Linked DNA regions of Homo sapiens: all the other regions are linked to region 4. Evidence: promoter capture Hi-C in human tissues and cell types (Jung and others, 2019). All regions are on one chromosome and are shown on one strand. The core of a region is centred on a gene start or on the middle of the fragment in contact, and the rest is flanking DNA. Distances in the headings are between cores, read along the strand shown.

Region 1 (5,744 bases), core at 2,837-5,336, 280 kb after region 4:
GTGGCATGATCTCAGTTCACTGCAACATCTGCCTTCTGGGTTCAGGCGATTCTCCTGCCTCAGCCTCCCCAGTAGCTGGGATAACAGGCGTGCACCACCACGCCCAGCTAACTTTTGTATTTTTAGTAGAGACAAGGTTTCACCATGTTGGCCAGGCTGATCTCGAACTCCTGACTGCAGGTATTCTGCCTGCCTTGGTCTCCCAAAGTGCTGGGATTACAGGCGTGAGCCACAACGCCCGGCCTGCTTGTCAGTTTCTATAAACAAAGCCTGCTGGGATTATGATTACAATTGAATCCATAGCTGAATTTGGGAATAATTGATATCTTAACACCATTGAGGTTTCCAACCACAAAACAAGGTGTATCTTTCCATTTTCTTAGTTCTTTTTTTTTTTTTTTGAGACAAAGTTTTGCTTTTGTTGCCCAGGCTGGAGTGCAGTGGGGTGATCTCTGCTCACTGCAACCTCTGCCTCCCAGGTTCAAGTGATTCTCCTGCCTCAGCCTCCCGAGTAGCTGGGATTACAGGTGCCCGCCACCAGGTCCAGCTAATTTTTTTTTTTTTGTATTTTTAGTAGAGACAGGGTTTCACTATGCTGGTTGAACTCCTGACCTCAGGTGATCCACCCGCCTCGGCCTCCCAAAGTGCTGGGATTACAGGCGTGAGCCACTACGCCCGGCCCCATTTTCTTAGTTCTTAGCTCTTGGCAATATTTTGCAGCATTCAATGAACAGATCTCGCACTTATTTTGTCAGATTTATCCCCAAAGCTTTCATACTTTTAAGCAACTGTACAAAGCTAGTTTTTTTTTAATCGCCAATTGTTTGTTGTTAGTATACAGAAATACACTTTATTTTTTTAAAAAAATTCTGGTAAAATACACAAAACATAAAATTTACCATCTTAACAATTTCTAGGTGTTCACTTGATGGGTGTTAAAAATACATTGATATTGTACAACCATCACCACTATTCATCTCCAGAACTCTTTTCATCTTGTAAAACCAAATATCTGTACCTATTCAATAATAACTCCTCATTTTTCTTTTCCTCCAGGACCTGGCAACTACTATACAACTTTCCGTTTCTGTAAATTTGACTACTTTATGTAAGGGAAATCATACAATATTTATATTTTTGTGACTGGCCTATTTCGCTTGACACAATGTCCTCAAGTTTCATCAATGTTGTAGCGTATGTCAGAATTTCCTTCCCTTTTTAAGGCCAAATAATATTCCACTGTATGTATATACCACATTTTGTTTATCCATTCATCTGTTGATGAACATTTGAGTTGCTGCCACTTCTTGGCTACTGTGAATACTGCTACTCTGAACATGGGTATACAAACATCTCTTCAAGATTCTGTTTTCAATTTTTTTTTTTTTGAGACGGAGTCTCACTCTTTGTTGCCCAGGCTGGAGTGTAGTGGTGCAATCTCGGCTCACTGTAACCTCTGCCCTCCAGGTTCAAGAAATTCTCCTGCCTCAGGCTCCCAAGTAGCTGGCATTACAGGCTTGCGCCACCACGCCCAGCTAATTTTTGCATTTTTAGTAGAGACAGGGTTTCGCCATGTTGGCCAGGCTGGTCTCCAACTCCTGACCTCAGGTGATCCGCCCGCTTTGGCCTCCCAAAGTCTGGGATTATAGGTGTGAGCCACCGCGCCTGGCCTGTTTTCAATTCTTTTGTATATATATCCAGAAGTGAGATTGCTAGATCTTATGGTAATTCTATTTTTCACTTTTGAGGAAGCTTTATACTGTTTTCCACAGTGGCTGCACCATTTTATATTCTTAACAACACTACACAAGGACTCCAATTTTTCCACATGCTTACCAACACTTCTTGTTTTTTTTTTTTTTGAGACAGAGTCTTGCTCTGTCACCCAAGCTGGAGTGCAGTGGCATGATCTCGGCTCACTACAAGCTCCGCTGCCCGGGTTCATGCCATTCTCCTGCCTCAGCCTCCCGAGCAGCTGGGACCACAGGCGCCCACCACCACTCCTGGCTAATTTTTTTGTATCTTTAGTAGAGATGGGGTTTCACCGTGTTAGCCAGGATGGTCTCGATCTCCTGACCTCATGATCCACCCGCCTCGGCCTCCCAAAGTGCTGGGATTACAGGCGTGAGCCACCGCGTCCAGCCCACTTCTTGTTTTTTGTTTGTTTGTTTGTTTGTTTTGAGACGGAGTCTCACTCTGTTGCCAGGCTGGAGGCTGGAGTGCAGTGGTGTGACCTCGGCACACTGCAATCTCCACCTCCTGGGTTCAAGCGATTCCCCAGCCTCAGACTCCCAAGTAGCTGGGACTACAGGTGTGCACCACCACGCCCAACTAGTTTTTTCTCTTAGTAGAGACGGGGTTTCATCATGTTGGCCAGGATGGTCTCGATCTCCTGACCTCGTGATCCGCCCGCCTCCGGCTCCCAAAGTGCTGGGATTACAGGCATGAGCCACGATGCCTGGCCGTATATTGATCTTATATCCTGCAACCTTGATAAACCTATTAATTCTAGCAGTTGTTTGTAGGATATTTTAGATATTCGATCATGTCATCTGTGAACAAAGATAGCTTTCTTTCTTTCCAATTTGGATGCCTTTTTATTTTCTTTCCTTACTGTTCTGCCTAGAAACTATAGTACCATGTTGACTAGAGAAGTGGTGACAACAGATATCTTTGCTATGATCATGTCTTAGAGGGAAAGTATTTGTCTTTCATCATTAAGTACCATGTTAATTGCAGGTTTTTTGAGATTTCTTTTATCATTTTGAGGAAGTTCCTTCCTATTTCTAATTTGCTCATATTTTTATCAGGAATAGATGGATTTTGTCAAATGCTTCTCTCTTCATCGAGATAATCATATGAGTTTCCCTTTTTAGTTTGTCAATGTGATGAATTACATTGATTGATTTTCAAATGTTAAAGCAGCCTTGCATTCCTAGGACAAAGCCAGCTGGTCATGTTCATGAAGGACATCCGTTTTCTTGGAATGCCTTTGTCTGCTTTTGGAATGAGAGTAATGCTAACTTCATAAAGTGAATTGGGGAATATTCCCTTCTCTTCAAATTTCTAGAAGAATTTGTGTAAAATTCGTTTTATTTATTTACTGTTTGGTAGAATTTGTCAGTGAAATAATCTGTGCCTGACTTTTAACTATAAATTTTGTCATTCTTATAGATACAGGATTATTCAAATCGTCTACTTATTCTTATGTGACTTTTAGTACATTGTCTTCCAAGGAATTTTTTTCATTCAATCTAAGTTCTTAAACATATTGCCATAAAGTTGTTCACAATATTCCTTGTTTTTTTAATGCACTTAGAGTCTATAGTTATGTTTTTTCATTCCTCATATTGTTAATTTATATTTTCTGTTTTCCTAGTCAATCTTCTTAGAACTTTATCAATTTTATTAAGCTTTTCAAAGAAGTCTTTTGGTTTCATTGATTTTCTCTATTGCTTTTCTGCTTTCCATTTCATTGATTGGTGCTCTTCATTATTTCCTCCTTTCTACTTATTATGTGGCTTGTTCTTTTTTTCTCCAGTTTTTTTGAGTAGATGCTTAGTTAATGGATTTGAGACATCTCTTCTAATATGACCATTTAAATTTCTCTCTAGGTATAGATTTAGCTGTATTCCATAGTTTTGATATGTTTCTTTTTATGTGCATTCAATGAAACATCTGTTCAAATTTCTTGAACATCTGTTTTAGAAGTTTTCTAACTTCTCTTGTCATTTTCTGTTTGACTCATGTTGTTTGATTTGCAAATATTTGGTTTTCCAGACTAATTTCATTTTGATCAGCAATCACACTTAATATAATTCTAATCTCTTAAATTTATCAAAATTTATTTTACAACACAGAACATAGTCTATCTTGGTGAATATTTTCTGCACACTGGCAGAGTACATGGATTCTTTTGCTGTTGGGTACAATGTCCTATAAACAAGTAGCTCAAGTTAATCGACAATATTGCTCAAGCATTACTCCTTTTCTTTCTACTTAAAAACCTCAATTATTAGCATAGTGTTGAAATCTTAAACTTTAATTGTGGATTTCTCTATTTTTCCTTTAGGCGCTCAGTATTTTTATTATTTATTTATTTATTTATTTATTTATTTATTTATTGAGACAGAGTCTCCCTCTGTCACCCAGGCTTGAGTGCAGTAGTGCAATCTCGGCTTACTGCAACCTCTGCCTCCTGGGTTCAAGCGATTCTCCTGCCTCAGCCTCCTGAGTAGCTGGGATTATAGGCATGCACCACCACGCCTGGCTAATTTTTGTATTTTTAGTAGAGATGGGGTTTCACCATGTTGGTCAGGTTGGTCTCAAACACCTGACCTCGTGATCAGCCCACCTTGGCCTCCCAAAGTGCTGGGATTACAGGCGTGAGCCACCGTGCCCTGGTGGCTCTCAGTTTTTGATTCAGCATTTTGTAGGCCTGTTATTTGTTCCATAAGCATTTTGGATTATTGTGTCTATTTGATAAATTGACTCTCTTATCATTCTGAAATATTAATCTTTATTCCTGGTAATATTCCCTGTTCTGAAATCTGTCTGTTTGATAGTAATACTGTCACTCCATCATTCTTTTGGTTCGTGTTTGCCTGGCATGTATTTTTCATTCTTTTGCATTTAACATATTTGTGTTTATCTAAAATGTGTTCCTACAAACAGCACATATTTTGCTCTTGCTTTTATATACAATCTGATAATCTCTGCCTCTTAGTTTGATGTTTAGACCACTTATATTTAATACAATTATCAATATAGTTGAGTTTAAGTGTATCATCTTGCTATAGTTTTCTATTTGTCTAATCTGGTTTTTACTCCTTTTTTTTCTTCTTTTCCTGTTTTCTTCTAAATTGAGTATTTTTGTGACTCTTTTATTTCCACGATTGGCCTAGTAGCTCTACTTTAGTTTTATTATTACTTTTAGTGGTTGTTGCAAGGTTTACAATATGCATCTTTAGCTTACTACAGTCTACCTTCAAATGATAATTTGCCACTATACATACAGTGTAAAACTTTGTAACCACTATTCCCATTTCTCCATATTCTCCCTATTATCCATTTTACTATTACATAAGTTTTAAACCCCATAATACATTGTTATTAATTTGCCTTACACAATAATCTTATAAATAAAAAAATTGTACTTATCCACACATTTCACAATTACAGAGTTCTTAACATTTATCTACAAATCAAAATTTCAGTCTAGTATCCTTTCCCATTATTTTTGAAGAAGTATCTTCAATATTTCTGGAAGTTCATGTTTGCTAGTGATAAACTATCTTAGCTCTTTCTTTCTTTTCTTTCTTTCTTTCTCTCTCTCTTTCTCTCTCTTCTCTTTCTTTCTGACAAGGTCTTGCTCTGGAAGTTCATGTTTTCTCATGATAAACTATCTTAGCTTTATTCTTTCCTGCTCTCCCCTCTCCCCCTCCCTCCCTCCCTCCCTTCCTTTCTTTTTTCCTTTTTTTTTTTTTTTTTTTTTGAGACAAGTTCTTGCTCTGTCACTCAGGCTGGAGTGCAGTGGCACAATCATGGCTCACTGAAGCCTTGACCTAGGCTCAAGCAAACCTCCCACCTCAGCCTCTCAAGTAGCTGGAATTACAGGCATGCGCCACCACACCCAGCTATTTTTCAATTTTTTTTTTTTTGATAGAGATGGGGGTCTCACTACGTTGCCTAGGCTGGTCTTGAACTCCTGGTTCAAGCGATCCTCCTCCCTTGGGCTCTTATCG
Region 2 (5,659 bases), core at 116-2,615, 510 kb before region 4:
CAAAATGCTCAAGCCAGAGGTGCAAGCTTAATTCGGTGTTAATATCTGAATCCTTCTCTTGTTCTTTCTTTTTCTTTCTTTTTTTTTTTTTTTTGAGACGGAGTCTCACTCTGTCACCCAGGCTGGAGTGCAATGGCACAATCTCGGCTCACTGCAACCTCCGCTTCCTGGGCTCAAGCGATTCTCCTGCCTCAGTCTCCCGAGTAGCTGGGACTACAGATGCCCACCACCACACCCAACTAATTTTTCTATTTTTAGTAGAGACAGGGTTTCTACTAAACCCTGGCCAGGCTGGTCTGGAACTCCTGATCTCAGGTAATCCGCCAGTCCCGGCCTCCCAAATTGCTGAGATTACAGGTGTGAGCCACTGCACCCAGCCTCCTCTCTTACTCTTATAACCATCTATCAACAAGCCCTGGCATTTCTACCATTGACATGTCGAATCCTATCACTCTATACCCTCTGCCACCACCGCAGTCCAAGGAGAGTTCTGTGTGTCCAGGAGCCCAATGGGGGCTGTGGTGGTAGAGCCCAGGGAGCTGGAAGGAGGGCATGAAGTGAGGTTGAAGAAGCAGGAAGGCTGTTGATTTGGATTTACGTGCAGTGGGAAGACATGATCTAACAAACATTTTTAAAAGGTCATTCTGACTACCGTGTGTAGGGTTCATCAGAGAAGAGCAGCCGTGCAAGTGAGCAGACCCATCAAGAGGCTGTTGCATGCCTGGACACACAGAACTCTCCTGCCTGTACAGTCGGATGCAGGTCAGGGCCTCAGCATATACCCCATGACCGAATGCTCCCTTCAGCCTCACCACGTTTATGCTTCACGTTACTAGACTGTGTTTCCATCCTTTGGTTCTCAGGTTAAATGTTCCCTCCTCACTCAGACTACCCAAAAGTAGGCAGTGCAAAAGTAGTGCAAAAGTAGGCAGTGACCCTCCCCTCCCCTTACCCCAGGGCACTCTGAGGCATTCAGACATCTCAGCACAGCATCATCATATTGACATTTCCATTGTCTGTCTGCTTCTCACTAGAACACAAGCTCTATGAAAACAGAGACAATGTTAGTTTTGTCCACCCAGATATTCACAGATGTACCATTATGCCTGCCACCACAGTAGTGCTCAACACATTAAAGATTAATAAATAAAGCAAGGGAAAGACAGGAAAGGGCAGAAGACAAGGAAAGATCACTTCTTACTCAGTCATGGCTGCCGCCCAGGTCTAAGCCACCCTCACTTCTCACCTAAAGGATCACAGCGACCTTCCAGGCAGTCTCCCAGGCACCAAGTGCCTGGCTCCCTACATGCAACGCAGCCCGATGATCATCTCAAGTGTGACTCTGCTGGAAAGCCTGCTCTCCCTTTCCCACAGAGTAAAGGTAAAGTCCTCACGCCAGCCTGCAAGGCCCCATGTGACCTTGGTTGCTCATTTCCTCTCTAACCTCATCTCACATTTGTCCCCACAGCTCACTCTGCTCCAGCCATCCAGCCCTCCTTGCTGTCCTTTGAGCAGGCTGAAGACGCCCAGCCTCAGGAGCTCTGCCCTGGCCAGTCCCTCTGACTGCTAGGCTCCTCCGCCGGGCATCCTCACAGCCAACTCTCACCAACTCCAGATCTTCGCACAATAGCCATTTCCTCTGTTAGGCCTGTCCTGTCCACCATAAGGAAACTTGCAACTCCCTCAGCCCACAGAGCACCTCTCACCGGCTAACATACTCTGTGGTCACGTGTTTGCTATCTGCCTCCCTAATGTCTTTGAGAACATTAGCTCCCTGAGGGCAGAAATCTCCTTCACTGACATATCCCAAGCCCCCAGAACTATGCGTGCAGCATAGTCAGTAACTATTTGTTGAATCAATGAATGAGAAAACAATATCAGGGAACTCTAAGTTGAAATACACTTTCTCAGTTCACAATGTTATCCATTCTGACCTTTATCAGACACAGGCACAGAGGACCTCAGAGATATTCCCAGCAGTCTCAATATCCATGGTAATGCTAATAAACTACTATTCTGGCATTTTGGTAATGGCAGACCTCATTTTATTGTAATTTGCTTTATTGATTTTTGCAGATATTGTACTTTTTACAAATTGAATGTTTGTGGCATCGCGGCTTCGAGCAAGTCCATTGGCACCATTTTTCCAGCAGCACGTACTCAAGTCATGTCTCTGTCACATTTTGGTAATTCTCGCAATATTGCAAACTTTCTCATTATTATTATAGCTGTTATGGTGATCCGTGATCAGTGATCTTTAATGTTACTACTGATCTTTGTTTTGGAGTGCTACAAACCGCACCCACTTATGGTGAGCTTAATTGATACAAGTTGTATGTGTTCTCACTCACCACTGACTGGCCATTCCCTAGTCTCTCTCGCTCTCCTTGGGCCTCCCTATTGCCTGAGACACAACAACATTGAAATTAGGCCAATTAGTAACCATACCAATGCCCACTAAGTCCTTGCTAAGATTCTTACTTTCAATCATAAGGTAGAAATGATCAAGTGTAGTGAGGAAGGCATGTTGAAAGGCACGACAGGCTGAGAGCTAGGCCTCTTGTGCCAAACAGCCAAGTTGTGAATGTAAAGGAAAAAAAATTTTTTTTTTGAGACAGAGTCTCACTCTGTCGCCCAGGCTGGAGTGCAGTGGCGCTATCTTGGCTCACTGCAACCTCCGCCTCCCGGGTTCATGCCATTCTCCTGCCTCAGCCTCCTGAGTAGCTGGAACTACAGGTGCCCACCACCATGCCCAGCTAATTTTTTGGGTTTTTTTTTTTTTTTTTTGTATTTTTAGTAGAGATGGGGTTGCACTGTGTTAGCCAGGATGGTCTCGATCTCCTGACCTCGTGATCCGCCCACCTCAGCCTCCCAAAGTGCTGGGATTACAGGTGTGAGCAAACGTGCCTGGCATAAAGGAAAAATTCTTGAAGGAAATTAGAAGTGCTATTCCAGTGAACACACGAATAATAAAAAAGCTAAGCAGCCTTAATGCTGATATGGAGAAAGTTTAAATGGGCTGGGTGCCATGGCTCACACCTGTAATCCCAGCACTTTGGGAAGCCAAAGTGGGAGGATCACTTCAGGTCAGGAGTTCGAGACCAGCCTGGCCTACATGGTGAAACCCAGTCTCTACTAAAAATATAAAAATTAGCTGGGTGTGGTGGTGCGCGCCTATAATCCCAGCTACATGGGTGGCTGAGGCAGGAGAATCGCTTTAACCTGGGAGGTGGGGGTTGCAGTGAGCAGAGATTGCGCCACTGCACTCCAGCCTGGGCTACAGAGCGAGACTCAGTCTCAAAAGAAAAAAAGTTTAAATGGTCTTCCCTTAAACCAAATCCCCCCCAACTCTGTTCAATTTTGTGAAGGCTGAGAGAGGTGAGGAAACTGCAGAACAAAGTTGTAAGCTAGCAGAGGTCGGTTCAGGAGGTTTAAGACAAGAAGCCATCTCCATAATATAAAAGTGCAAAGTGAAGCAGCAAGTGCTGATGGAGAAGCTGCAGTGAGTTCTCCAGAAGATCCAGCTCAGATAATTAATGAAGGTGGCTACACTAACAGCAGATTTTCAATGTAGATAGAATGGCTTCTATTGGAAGAAGATGCCATCTAGGACTTTTAGTAGCCAGGAAGGAGAATTCAGTGCTTGGCTTCAAAGTGTCACAGGACTGGCTGACTCCCTTGTTAGGGGCTGATGCAACTGATGACTTTAAGTTGAAGCCAATGCTCACTTACCATTTCAAAAATCCTATTGGTCTTAAGAACAATGGTAAATCTACTCTGCCTGTGCTCAATAAATGGAATAATAAAGCCTGGATGACAGCACATCTGTTTACAGCATGGTTCACTTAATATTTTAAGTCCATTGTTACACCTACTGCTCAGAAAAAAAAATTCCTTTCAAAATAATACTGCTCATTGACAATGCACCTGGTCACCCAAGAGCTCTAATGGAGATGTACAAGGAGATGAATGTTGTTTTCATGCCTGTAACACAACATCCATTCTGCAGCCCCATAAATCAAGGAGTATTTTGACTTCCAAGTTTTATTACCTATGAAATAAATTTTGTAAGCCTATAGCTGCCATAGATAGTGACTCCTCTGATGGATCTGGGCAAAGTCAGTAGAAAACCTTCTGGAAAGGATTCATCATTCTAGATGCCCTGAAGAACATCAATAATTCATGGGAGGAAAAATATCAACATTAACAGGAGTTTGGCAGAAATTGACTCCAGCCCTCATGAATGGCTTTGAGTTGTTCAAGACTTTGGTGGAAGAAGTCACTGCAAGTGTGATAGAAACAACAAGAGAACTAGAATTAAAAGTGGATCCTGAAGATGTGACTGAGTTGCTGCAATTTCATGATAAAACTTGAACAGATGAGGAGTTGCTTCTTATAGATGAGCAAATAAAGTAGTTTATGAAGATGGAATCTACTTCTGGCAAAGATGCTGTGAACATTGTTGAAATGACAACAACGGATTTAGAATATTTTGAATATTAAATAAACCTAGTTGATAAAGCAGTGGCAGGGTTTGAGAGGATTAACTCCAATTCTTAAAGAAGTTCTACTGTGACCAAAATGCTATTAAACAGCATTACTTGCTACAGAGAAATATTTAATGAAAGGAAGAGTCAATCGATGCAGCAAACTTCATTGTTGTCTCATTTTAAGAACTTGCCACAGCCACCTCAACCTTCAGCAACCATGATCAGTCAGCAGCCATCAACATCAAGGCAAGACTCTCCATCAACAAAAAGATCACCATTTGCTGAAGGCTCAGGTGATCATTAGCTTTTTTTTTTAGCAATACATATCTGTGTGTGTATGTGTATGTGTATAAAATTTAGAGATGGGATCTCACTGTCATGATCATAGCTCACACTCCAGCAGCCTCAGACTCCTGGACTCAAGGGATCCTCCTTGCCTCAGCCTCCCAAGTAGCTGGAACTACAGGCATGCACCACCATACCTGACCAATTAAAAACAACTTTTTAGAAACAGGGTCTCACTCTGCTGTCCAGGCTGCCTTGAGTCCCTGCCTCAGCCTCCTGAGCCCTGACACCCAGCTCATGGTAACTGTTGGTTTGCTTGTTTGAGACAGGGTCTCATTCTGTTTGCTCAGGCTGGAGTACAAAGGCATGACCACAGCTCACTGCAGCCTCAACCTTCTGGGTTCAAGGAATCCTCTCAACTCAGCCTCCCAAGTATCTGGGACTACAGGTGTGTGCCAACATGCCTGGCTAATTTTTGTATTTTTTTTGTAGAGACAGGGTCTCACTATGTTGCCCAGGCTGGCCTTGAACACCTGGGCTCATGTGATCCACCCGCCTCAGCCTCCCAAAGTGCTGGGATTACAGGCGTGAGCCACTGCACCAGGCCATTAAGCCACATCTTAAGGGTGGACAGGTCAGGGATGGGCATTTCAAGCCAAGGAAAACAGCCTATTTAAAGAAACCACAAAAGAGCCTACCCTCTAAGACATAAAGCCGGAACAAAGGTAAAGACAAGTGGAGGGAGATGATGGTGGAAGAGTAGAAGTACTTGGTCTTAAAGAGCTTTATAATTCACCATAAGAAGTTTGGATTTTATTCAGTACAGCAGGTAGCCTTGGAAGGATATGAGCAAGGGCGTGGCAGGCATGCACCACCCTTCTATA
Region 3 (5,685 bases), core at 2,659-5,158, 330 kb before region 4:
CGAGACCAGCCTGGCCAAAATGGAGAAACCCTGTCTCTACTAAAAATACAAAAAATAGCCAGGTGTGGTGGCACATGCCTGTAATCCCAGCTACTTGGGAGGCTGAGGTGGGAGAATCCATTGAACCCGAGAGGTGGAGGTTGCAGTGAGCCAAGATCACACCACTGCACTCCAGCCTGGGCAACAGACTATTTAAAAAACAACAACAACAACCCACCATTAAGAGGAAAAGGCCTACTCAAATGGAGAAAACAAGAGTAGAGTTGAGAGAATAGGTATAAAGGAGAGACTTCTCTGACCCTACTTTGTCTGGTAGATTTAATTTTTGAAAGCAGGTAAATATTCTGCATAATTATAAAACAAAATTAAATTTAAAAAGGATAAAAGCGATCCCTAAAAATAGCAAACAATGAAACAAATGGATCTATATGTTAAGTCGGTGACATAACCCACAGAGGTGAGATAGTTCAGGAGATGTTAATTCATAGAAATTTGATCATATATCCATAGTGAAATAGATCCTAAGGACAAAAAGAACTACAAAAATGAAAAAAAAAAAACTTTTCAGTCTTCATCTTGATAATAGTGTTGGTATTATTATTTTGAGATTGGTGTATACGGGGTGTGAGATGAAGCAAACTAGTAATTATCACAGTGTCATTGAGAACCAGGATTTGGGCATGGGAGAAAGGAGACACAGGTGTGAGACTGAAAGGCCTAAGGAAGGACAATGTAGTCCTGAATTTGACTTCAACTTATCTGAATCTATTAATGAATGAATTCATTGCGTATTTTATCTTTGAAAAATGTGTTTCTTAATACCATCCACTGAAAAGCCCTACAAACAGCAACCATCCCTAAGCTGTCCTACCATCCAGACTGTAATATTTAAATAGCATTTCCAGGCAGGCGCGGTTGCTCATGCCTGTAGTCCCAGCACTTTAGGAGGCCGAGGCAGGCGAATCACGTGAGGTCAGGAGTTTGAGACTAGCCTGACCAACATGGTGAAACCCCGTCTCTACTAAAAATTCAAAGATTAGCGGGATGTGATGGTGTGTGCCTGTAATCCCATCTACTCAGGAGGCTGAGGCAGGAGAATCACTTGAACCCAGGAGGTGGAGGTTGCAGTGAGCCAAGATCACGCCACTGCACTCCAGCCTCGGCGACAAGAGTGAAACTCCGTCTCTAAATAAATAAACAAATAAATATAATTTACTACTAAAAGGAACCATGGTATCATTTCCTACTAGAAAGAACCATGGAGCAGGGGGTGGAATTCATTTGCCCAGCTTCCCTCATAAAATTATACCTGATCATAACCAAAGAGTTGATGAGAGAAGTTTTTTATTTAAAGAATTAGTCTACCTAGGCAGGGCGCGGTGGCTCACACCTGTAATCCCAGCACTTTGGGAGGCCGTGGCAGGCGGATCACAAGGTCAGCAGTTCGAGACCAGCCTGACCAACACAGTGAAACCTCATCTCTACTAAAAATACAAAAATTAGCTGGGTGTGGTGGCGCGCACCTATAATCTCAGCTACTCAGGAAGCTGAGGCAGGAGAATCGCTTGAACCCGGGAGGCGGAGGTTGCAGTGAGCAGAGATCGTGCCACTGCACTCCAGCTTGGGTGACAGAGCAAGACTCCATCTCAAAAAAAGAAAAAACAAAAAAGAAGTAGGCTATCTAATAAATGAAGAAGGAATAATAAAATATCATAAATTTGCAACGTCTACTTTATCGTTCTAGGCAATGGTCACAAACAGCTGCTAACATCACCAAACATTATGTGCCTCTTTGCCAAAAACTTCAAACCTGAATCTGAACAGCTCTAAATTTAACCACCAACTAACAGAAAATACAGTGGACAGAGTGATACGTAAACCACCCCTTAGGGGCGTGATCTGCAAAAACCAGCCTGTGAGAAACTCCAGGTTTCTTCAACAATCAATTGCAAGGAAAAAGAGTAATAAAAGGGAACCAATAGTTTTTTGAAAAACAGGAAACATATCAACAAATTTCAACGTATAGCTCTTAATCAGATTAGCCAAGCTCAGTGGCTCTTGCCTGTAATCCCAGCATTTTGGGAGGCCGAGGTGGGGGAATCACCTGAGGTCAGGAGTTCAAGACCAGCCTGACCAACATGGTGAAACCCCATCTCAACTAAAAATACAAAAATTAGCCAGGCCTGGTGGTGCATACCTGTAATCCCAGCTACTTCAGAGGCTGAGGCAGGAGAATTGCTTGAACCCGGGAGGTGGATGTTGCAGTGAGCTGAGATTGCACCACTGCACTCCAGCCTGGGTAACAGAGGGAGACTCCATTAAAAAAAAAAAATTAAAAAAAATCTTAATTGGATCACGATTCAAACAAATTGTAAAACAATAAGGAAATAAGGAAAATTTGAACACAGGTTGGATATTAAATGATTTCTTTATAGTAGTAGTAGGTGAGTTATATGGATGAATTCATCATGGCTTGATAACTAGTGAAGCTGGGTGGTGAGTACATGAGAAATCATTGTACCCTTCTGTCTATTTTTGGATATATTTGGAATTTTCCATGATAAGCGATTGTTATTGAAAACCTACTCTGCGTATCCAAAGCTGAACATTCTCCTCCTCCTCCTTGCATTCCTTCTGCAACAATCCTAACCCTCCCAGAGGCAGAGGAACGGCCAGAAATCAAACACGGGACTGCAATAGAGAAAAGCAACTGACATATTTCCAAAAATATTATTTCCATTTCAGAAGCTTTATTTTTGATGGAAGATGATAAGTTCCATTTTACATGTGTTGAATTTGAGCTTCCCAACTCCAGCAGGAGTCAAAAACGCAAGACTTCAGACTGGAAGGCATGTCAGGGCTGAAGCTGTGAAAACAGATAATGTCCCCGGCAGAACAGAAACAGAAGAAAAAGAAAAAGAGGAGCACTTGGGATAGAGTCTTTCCCCTCCTCCCTTCCTTTCTTACTCATTCATTCAGAAATGCATGTGTAAGTGCCTATAAGCTACAAGAACCAGGGAGATAAAAAGATGAAAAGGTGGCATTTATTGAGGAAGAAAGGCATTAGGTGTGCCAGGCGTGGTGGCTCAAGCCTGTAATCCCAGCATTTTGGGAGGCTGAGGCGGGCGGATCATGAGGTCAGGAAATCGAGACCATCCTGGCTAACATGGTGAAACCCCATCTCTACTAAAAATACAAAACATTAGCTGGGCGTGCCTGTAGTCCCAGATACTCGGGAGGCTGATGCAGAAGAATCGCTTGAACCTGGGAAGCAGAGGTTTCAGTGAGCCGAGATCGTGCCACTGCACTCCAGCCTGGGCGACAGAGCGAGACTCCTTCTACAAAAAAAAAGAATAAATGGAAGGCATCTGGTGCTATGAAAAGCATTAGGTTTTGTGATGGGGGTAGACATGAGGCGGAGAGGACACACAGAAGACCTCTTAAGTTTGACTGAAGAATTCAGAGAAATGCTCTTGTTTGGGAGGCCAGAGAAAAAAGTGAAACTGAGACTCAGGGCCATGTCTGAGTTCTGGCCAATGAAACTATGGGGGACCTTCTGCGAAGATGTTTTTCCTGTCTGCTAAAAAGAAAGCCCTTTTCTGCCCACATCCTTCCTTGCTGCTTCCTGCTGTGGGTGCAGTGTGAGGCTGTGGTGCTTGGAACAGCTGCAGCCACTCTGTGACCAGGAGTCAGCAAGCATGAGGACGAGATGTCAACACACTCAGGGTGTTTGAAGTCACCTGATCCTTGATGCCATTGCTGAGCTACTAAACAAGCTCTAAGCAGCCTAGACTCATTGTTAAGTAAACAATAAATCCTTTTATATTTTTTAAAAATTATTTCAACTTTTATTTTAGATTCAGGCGTTTCTTACATGGGTATACTGTGTGACATTGAGGTTTGGGGGTATGAGTGATCCCACCACCCAGATAGTGAGCATAGTACCCAATAGTTATTTTTTCAGCCCTTGTCCCCTCCTTCTTCCTGCTCCAGGTGACCCCAGTGTCTATCGTTCATATCTTTATGTCCATGAGTACCCAATGCTTACCTCCCACTTAGGAGTGAGAACATGCAGTATTTGGTTTTTCTGTTCCTGAGTTAATTTGCTTAGGATAGTGGCCTCTAGCTGCATCCATGTTGCTGCAAAGGATATGATTTTACTCTTTTAAAAGGCTGTGTAGTATTCCATGGTGTATAGGTACTACATTTCCTTTGTCCAATCCACCACTGATGGGCACCTGGGTTGATTCCATGTTTTGGCTATTGTGAACAATGCTGCGATGATAAATGTTCTTATATTGAAAACATTATTAATTTGAATACTCTATTACTTGGAATAAAGTGAACTCTCTGGTGTGGTGTTTCTTCTCTACCAAACTATGAATTGCTTGGAGAAGCAACACAGCAAAATGCTCCCAACAGACCTTGTTGATGTATATGATACCAGTCTTGAAAGCAGCAAAAACTGGAGTGGGCAGAATCCAGACTGATGGAGTGAATGTGTGGTCAATGTCAGCTTCTGGGATTCCTCCCACCCACCAATGAAGACTATAAAGATGAGTCAGGGTCAAAGCCATGTATGGATTGAGCCAGAAGGTAGCGGGTAAATGAATGCTCTTGACCATAGGTATTCCCTCTTGGGCTCCATCTTCCCAACCGCTTTTTCCTCAATACGGAGGGTGCCTCCCAGCAGAGCGGGGCCACCTCTGCTTACATCAGCAAAAGGTGATCTTGCCAGGAAAAGGAGGTAGGAGCAGCATCTGAGAAAGTAGCAGGATTAAGGAAAGAATTTCTTTTAGAGTGGGAAGACTTGAGCATGTCTGTGGATTGAAGAAAACAAGAAACCAAAAATGGAAGCAAAGCAGGTGATTGATGGAGCAAGGTGGAGGAGGTGGAAAGATCCAGAGATGGGGGGATGAAGAGAGGCTGGTTCATGGGTATAAAAACACAGTTAGAAGGAATGAGTTCTAGTATTCAATGGTGCAGTAGGGAAATTATAGCTAACAATAATTTATTATATATTTTGAAATAGTTAGATTTGTAATGTTTCCAAAACAAAGAAAAAGATAAACGCTTGAGGTGATGGCTATCCCAATTATGCAGATTCCATCATTACCCATTGTATGCAGGGATCAAAACATCACACATACCCCATAAATATGTACAACTATGATATATCAACTTAAAAACACAAAAAAGGAGAGATGCAGAGGAAAGGTATTTTTTCTCGTGAAGATAGGCAAAGAGAAGAGAATATATGAGATACGCTAAGGGGAAGGATATACAAAGAATTTTCCTGGCTGACTCTGATGCCAGACAGGCAAGCTGCAAAACTGGGGCTTAGCCTGGGAGGGTTCTTGGCTTCACCCCAGAAGGAATTCAAGGGTAAGCTGGTGGTGTTAGACGCAGCTTTTATTGGAGTGACAGTGTACGGTGGCAGCAGAGGGACTGCTCCTTGCAAGGCAGGGCTACCCTTGAGGCAGGGAACCTGGAGGAGCAGTTCAGAGGCAGCTCTGCCATCACGTTTATACCCACTTTTAATGACATCCAAATTAAGGGGATGATTATCCAGAAACTTCCAGAAAAAGAGTGGTAACTTCCAGGTCATCAGGTTGTTACCATGGAAAGGGACGATAGCTTCCGGTGTTGCCATGGCAATGGCAGTTGATATGGCATGGATAGGCA
Region 4 (5,433 bases), core at 172-2,671:
GCTTTTAAGAGCTGAGGGACTTGCACATATTTATAGGCTAAGGAGAGCTGACACCGAGGCTGATGCCTGGAATCCCAGCACTCTGGGAGACCAAGGTGTGTGGACCATTTGAGTTTAGGAGTTGGAGATCAGCCTGGGCAACATAGCAAAACCCGGTCTCTACAAAAAAAAAAAGAAAAAAAAAGAAAGAAAAAAAAATTAGCTGGGTGTGGTGGCGTGCGCCTGTAGTAGTCCCAGCCACTCAGGAGGCTGAGATGGGAAGATCACTTGAGGCTGGAAGGTTGAAGCTGCAATGAGCCATGATCATACCACAGCGAGACCCCGTCTCAAATAAAAATAAATAAATAAATAAATATAGGCTAAGGAGTAGAAGCAGGTGGATGTGGAAAGAATGAATAGGATAAGGCCCCTGGTGAGATGAACAAGGACAGGATCCCATGAACAAGGAACAAGGATCAGGATCAGGATCCCACAGGATCAACTTTAGACCAACCAAAAGAAAAAATGTGATTCCTTGAACCACATATATTTCACAGTATGGACTTCATCCGCTGTCTTTCATTACGGTTAAAATTACACCGCATTTCTAGTAATTCATGTTTGATGATGACAAAATACGTATCAGGCTACAGCTATCTGCAATCAGAATTGGGAACTTATCTGAACTGATCCTATAACGCACTGCCCACATTCTTCAAGAAATAGTAAGGTACCAGCCTCGATTCTTGCTTTTTCCCGCTCTTGCAGATGGACCAAATATCCACTGGGCCCTCAGTCCTGTTAATTGCCACACTAAACAGGGTATCCCAGAACGTATGCTACCCGAGAATGCTGCACTGTCCCACCTGTAAGCATTGTACTTGTGGATAGCTTGGCTCACGTTCTTCTCAAAGTTTGCGAGTTCTGAAAGGCAACAGAAGGCTCGGGTGAACAAGAACCACGAGTAAACAAACGAGAACTGTTTTCTGGAAGGGGATATGGCAGCCTCTAAGAGACAGTGACCACCCGTTTCCTCCAAGGGCCAGACCAAAAGCAGCCCAAGCGATGGCCCAGGTGTAGCCGGCAGGACTGACAACCAGCCAGGGGCGCCGGAGGGAGATCCCCACGGAAGACGACCCGCTGCAAGGAACCTACCCTACCCACTGGACTGTCGGTGTGGGAGAGAAGGAAGGCAGGGGAAGAGGCTGGAAGGAAAGAAGAAAGCCAGCGGGGCCCGGCCCGGTGCTAACCTGTGAGCATGTCGGTGATTCCCCCGTTGAGAGTCTCCTGCGGCGCCTTCCGTTTGCTCATGGCGGCCTGCACCCGAGAACCCCAGAGTGTTCAGAACCAGGGACTAGAGCCCTCTCCCAGCTTGAAGGAGGTACCAGGACTTGGAGACGGGAGCAGGAGCAACCCAGCTCCGGCGCGACCGGCGGAACAATGGTTGCCCCCGATGGGGGGCGGGGCGCACGGCGCTTGTTGTGACGTCACGCGTCCTGGGCGGGGCGGGGCGGGGCTAGAGGGGCGAGCCCTCGGCAGGTGAGGAGAGAGAACTCGGAGGGTTCGTGGACTCGTGGACGTGGACACGGCGCGGGGGAAATAGGCACCTCAGAATGACAGCCCAGGGGCCTTCCTATGGGAAGACCTGGAGTTTTGACCTAAGATATTAAATCTGTTTTCTCAGTGTTTATCTGGAATCCTTTCCCTAGAAGGGGAAACGGGAGTGCGATCTTGATTCTGAAATACTTGCGCTGGTGGGGTAGCTTCCTGCACAAAAATGTGCACTGTAATAGCTACCCAATGCATGGCGCGTTTTGTACGTGGTTAGAGGCGACACTGGCGTCACACTGTCAAAACTTTCTCTAAGGATACCGGGCAGTCCACACTCCAGTGCAGCCCCTTACGTACTAGGGCGCTGCCGGAGCCCGGCGTGAACCATGCCGAGAACAGGAATCCTCCCGCACACGTGTTAGTACACCTGCCAACCAGTGTCAAAAGATATTTTATTTTTAATCCCCCTGCCTTTGCGGTAGGGACCAAATTAATGAAGAGACCACAAGAAAGGGAGAAGTGTTTCATCTAGATCATGAGCAATGGAACCCTAATTATAACATGATGACCTACATCTGAGAAATTTACAGTCTGCTTGAGAAATGGAAATGTCACATCAGCAATAGTTTATTTTACAAGCGTAACTCCTGGGTTCATATCGAACTGCAATTCCAGGCAATTGCTTTGTGCATCGAAAAATTAAAATTTATTACAAAATGATACGTAGTTGCTGTAGAGAAATCTGGAAAAATGTATAAAAGGAGAAAATTAAAATCAGTGATCTCACCCTACAGCTGAACTATTAATATTTTGGGACGTACACTTCTAGTCTTCTAACCCAGTCTATTAAAAATTCCCATTATTTTCCAATAAATATCATTAGTTTCTTTGATTAGCAAGGTTGTGGTGATTGTGTTTCCTTACAATATCAGTGTATATCTTAAGTTATGCTTATTGGAAATCTGTAATTCTTCTTTTTTTGAATTTCCTATTCATATCATTTACCATTTTCCTAATGGGGGTAGTTTGTTACTAATCTGGTAGATCTTTTCTATATATTACTACTTGCCCTTTTATGGATAGCTTTTGTAAAAATTTTGTACATATTTGTATTTTCCTCAATTTATTACTTGAGGAATAAAAGTTAAAAAAACTTTATGCCTGCAACTTAACTATCTGATTAGTTAAGCTGCAGTGAGCAGTGACCACTCTCATTTACTCTTTATACTCTCATTTACATATATGACTTGTCCTAGTTTTCCCTGTTCACACTTTTTTCTGTCCAATCTCTATTCCAGGTGATATTCAGATTATTTTGCTCTGAAGAATTATTCCTCCTTAAATAAAAATGTATTTACCTCTGAATTTTAAAAGTTACAAATGTAGGGAATTGTGGGATCAGTTTTACAAATTTTTTTGTTTTGAGACAGAGTTTCACTCTTGTCCCGCAGGCCAGAGTGCAATGGCACGATCTCGGCTCACTGCAACCTCTGCCTCCCGGGTTCAAGTGATTCTCCTGCCTCAGCCTCCCGAGTAGCTGGGATTACAGGATCCTGCCACCATGCCCAGCTAATTTTTGTATTTTTAGTAGAGATGGGGTTTCACCATGTTGGCCAGGCTGGTCTCAAACCCCTGACCTCAAGTGATCCACCCGCCTTGGCCTATTAAAGTGCTAGATTACAGGCGTGAGCCACTGCACCTAGCCCATTTTTACAAATACTATATTTTTAAAATTAGTGCCAGAGAAACCAAGGAAAATAATCCATTATCTGTCCTTATCGTCTTAGAACAACCGACATTTGATCTGCTTCACAAAGTTCTTCTTGAAATAACTTGCTTCAATTGGCTTCTAAGATTCCACATGCTCTGGGCTTCCTTTTTCCTCACTGGCCAGTCCTCAGCAGGGTGTGTGTGTGCGCACATGTGCGCCTGAGCACTGGTTCCCAGCTCCTCCTCCACTCTCCAGCCTTTATGGGAAATGGCTTCACACTTCAGTCTTCTAACCAGCTTTTCCAACTTGTCCAGTTTTACCTGTTTAAATGGCATGTCTAGCTTGAAAGTCTCCTAAACTCATAGTTCAAGTCTTGACCTCTCCCTTGAGTTCCAGTCTCATACATCAGGCTGTCTACTGGATAGCTCTAGTCCATAATAGGCATCTCAAAGATAAAATGTCCTAAAGAACTCCTGACTCTTGCCCCACCAGCTTCTCCTTAACTTTCCCCCATCTCAGTTAATAGCATTTTAATCCACCCTGCTATCAGGCCAAACCCATAAGAGTCATTTTTAATTGCTCTTTTCACACCCCACATCCCGTCTGCCAGCAGACCTTGTCTGTTCTGTCTCAGGAATATGTGCTGAACTGGATGACCTCTCATCCCGAGCTGCCACTGCCCTAGATCAAACTCCCATGACCTCCTGAACTGTTACCAAAGCCTCCTCAGTGGGCTTCCTGCTTCTGCTCTTGTCCTCTTATAGAATATTCCCCAAACAGAGGGTGATCTTTTTAGGATGTAGTATCAAAATATGTCCCTATTTATACACCCTCCCACTGCACTTAGGATAAAATCCAAGCTCCTGGCGGGGCGCAGTGGCTCACACCTGTAATTCCAGCACTTTGGGAGGCTGAGGCAGGCGGATCACCTGAGGTCAGGAGTTCAAGGTCAGCCTGGCCAACATGGTGAAACCCCATTTCTACTAAAAATACAAAAATTAGCCAGGCGTGGTGGTGGGCGCCTGTAATCCCAGCTACTTGGGAAGTTGAGGCAGGGAGGTTGAACCCTGGAGGTGGAGGTTGCAGTGAGCCAAGATCGGGCCACTGCACTCCAGCCTGGGCAACAAGAGTGAGTCTCCAAAAAAAAAAAAAAAAAAAAAAAAAAATCCAAGCTCCTTTTCATGGCCCACAAGGCCTTATGTGATCCACCTCCTGCCTGCTCTCCTACTGCATTTCTTGCCACTTTTCTCATTGTTTAGGACACACACACGCCCATATTTCATACATACATGTGCCTGCTCAGCATTGTCCCCTCATTGTATGGTTCTTTCCCTGGCTGCCTTCTTCTCATCATTCAGGTCCCAGCCTGGCAGTCACACCCTTGTCACGTTCCTGGACCAGGCCCAGGTTTTTACTTGTGTGTTTCCTTCACAGTACTAAGAAGGACTGGAAATATTCACACGTGGTTGCACATTATGCACTCCCTGCTCACTCCTCCTCCCACCAATGTGCAATGCCAGCTCCACGGGAGAAGGGACTTAATTTTTGTTTCCACGTAAGTACTCAATAAAGTTAATAACTTAAATTGCAGTTTTGCTGAAGTGTCAAACACGGCCACCTGTAATCCCAGCACTCTGGGAGGTGGAGGCAGGAGGATCGAGCCCAGGAGTTCAAGACCAGACTGGGCAACATGGCGAGACCCCATCTCTTTTACAAAAATAAGAAAAATGTACTGGGTGTGGTGGCACGAAGAGATGAAGCATGGGACTCTTGGACTCATTCAACCATCTCAGTAGAAGTCAGGAATAGAGATGGGATTATCCCAGAAAATTTGTGGAGGACCCTCTTGTCTAATGGCATTGAACTCCATGACATTACACAGGGGACCCACAAGATTTTTGAGAATGTTACATCAGCAGAGACAGCTTAGCCTGGAAGTGACAGAGACAGTGTGAAATGAGAAAAGGCTGTTGAAATCCAAACTGCTACGGGCAAGAAATGGGCTGATAGAGCTACTGGGCTGCAAACATGCGATCCTTCAAGAAAAAGCAAGAATGACTCCAAGGGCAGAGCCAGGGGCACAGAGGCAGAGGCCAGAGGAGCAGACAGAAGTGATGGATGCAGAGACACAGGCCTATGAGGTCACTGTGAGCACAGACTCAGAGGCCTATGGAGCCACCATGGGTACAGAG

What was found. The method cuts DNA at HindIII sites, captures the fragments that hold promoters and counts their contacts. A contact is called where the count stands out against the background at its distance.
Region 1: a fragment that was not itself captured here is called in contact with the fragment with the promoter of POLB in region 4 in 1 of the 25 tissues and cell types used here (IMR-90 fibroblasts).
Region 2: a fragment that was not itself captured here is called in contact with the fragment with the promoter of POLB in region 4 in 1 of the 25 tissues and cell types used here (adrenal gland).
Region 3: a contact is called between a fragment that was not itself captured here and the fragment with the promoter of POLB in region 4, in 2 of the 25 tissues and cell types used here (hippocampus and neural progenitor cells).

What each region holds. Positions count from the first base shown.
Region 1 is chr8:42,058,622-42,064,365 of GRCh38, reverse strand. The region is part of intron 1 of KAT6A-AS1 (KAT6A antisense RNA 1); the gene reads right to left. Among named protein-coding and RNA genes, the nearest start is that of KAT6A, 9.5 kb to the right of the region's middle. The HindIII fragment of the contact is 3,005 bases long and covers 2,584-5,588 here.
Region 2 is chr8:42,846,000-42,851,658 of GRCh38, reverse strand. It overlaps a transcript of RNF170 not described here. Among named protein-coding and RNA genes, the nearest start is that of THAP1, 5.5 kb to the right of the region's middle. The HindIII fragment of the contact is 4,868 bases long and covers 1-3,799 here.
Region 3 is chr8:42,663,967-42,669,651 of GRCh38, reverse strand. No RefSeq gene overlaps it. Among named protein-coding and RNA genes, the nearest start is that of CHRNB3, 31 kb to the left of the region's middle. The HindIII fragment of the contact is 8,240 bases long and covers 1-5,685 here.
Region 4 is chr8:42,334,482-42,339,914 of GRCh38, reverse strand. POLB (DNA polymerase beta) reads right to left here and starts at 1,421. Exons shown (of 14, transcript NM_002690.3): 1 at 1,230-1,421; 2 at 846-903. The coding sequence starts at 1,290. The HindIII fragment of the contact is 25,945 bases long and covers 1-5,433 here.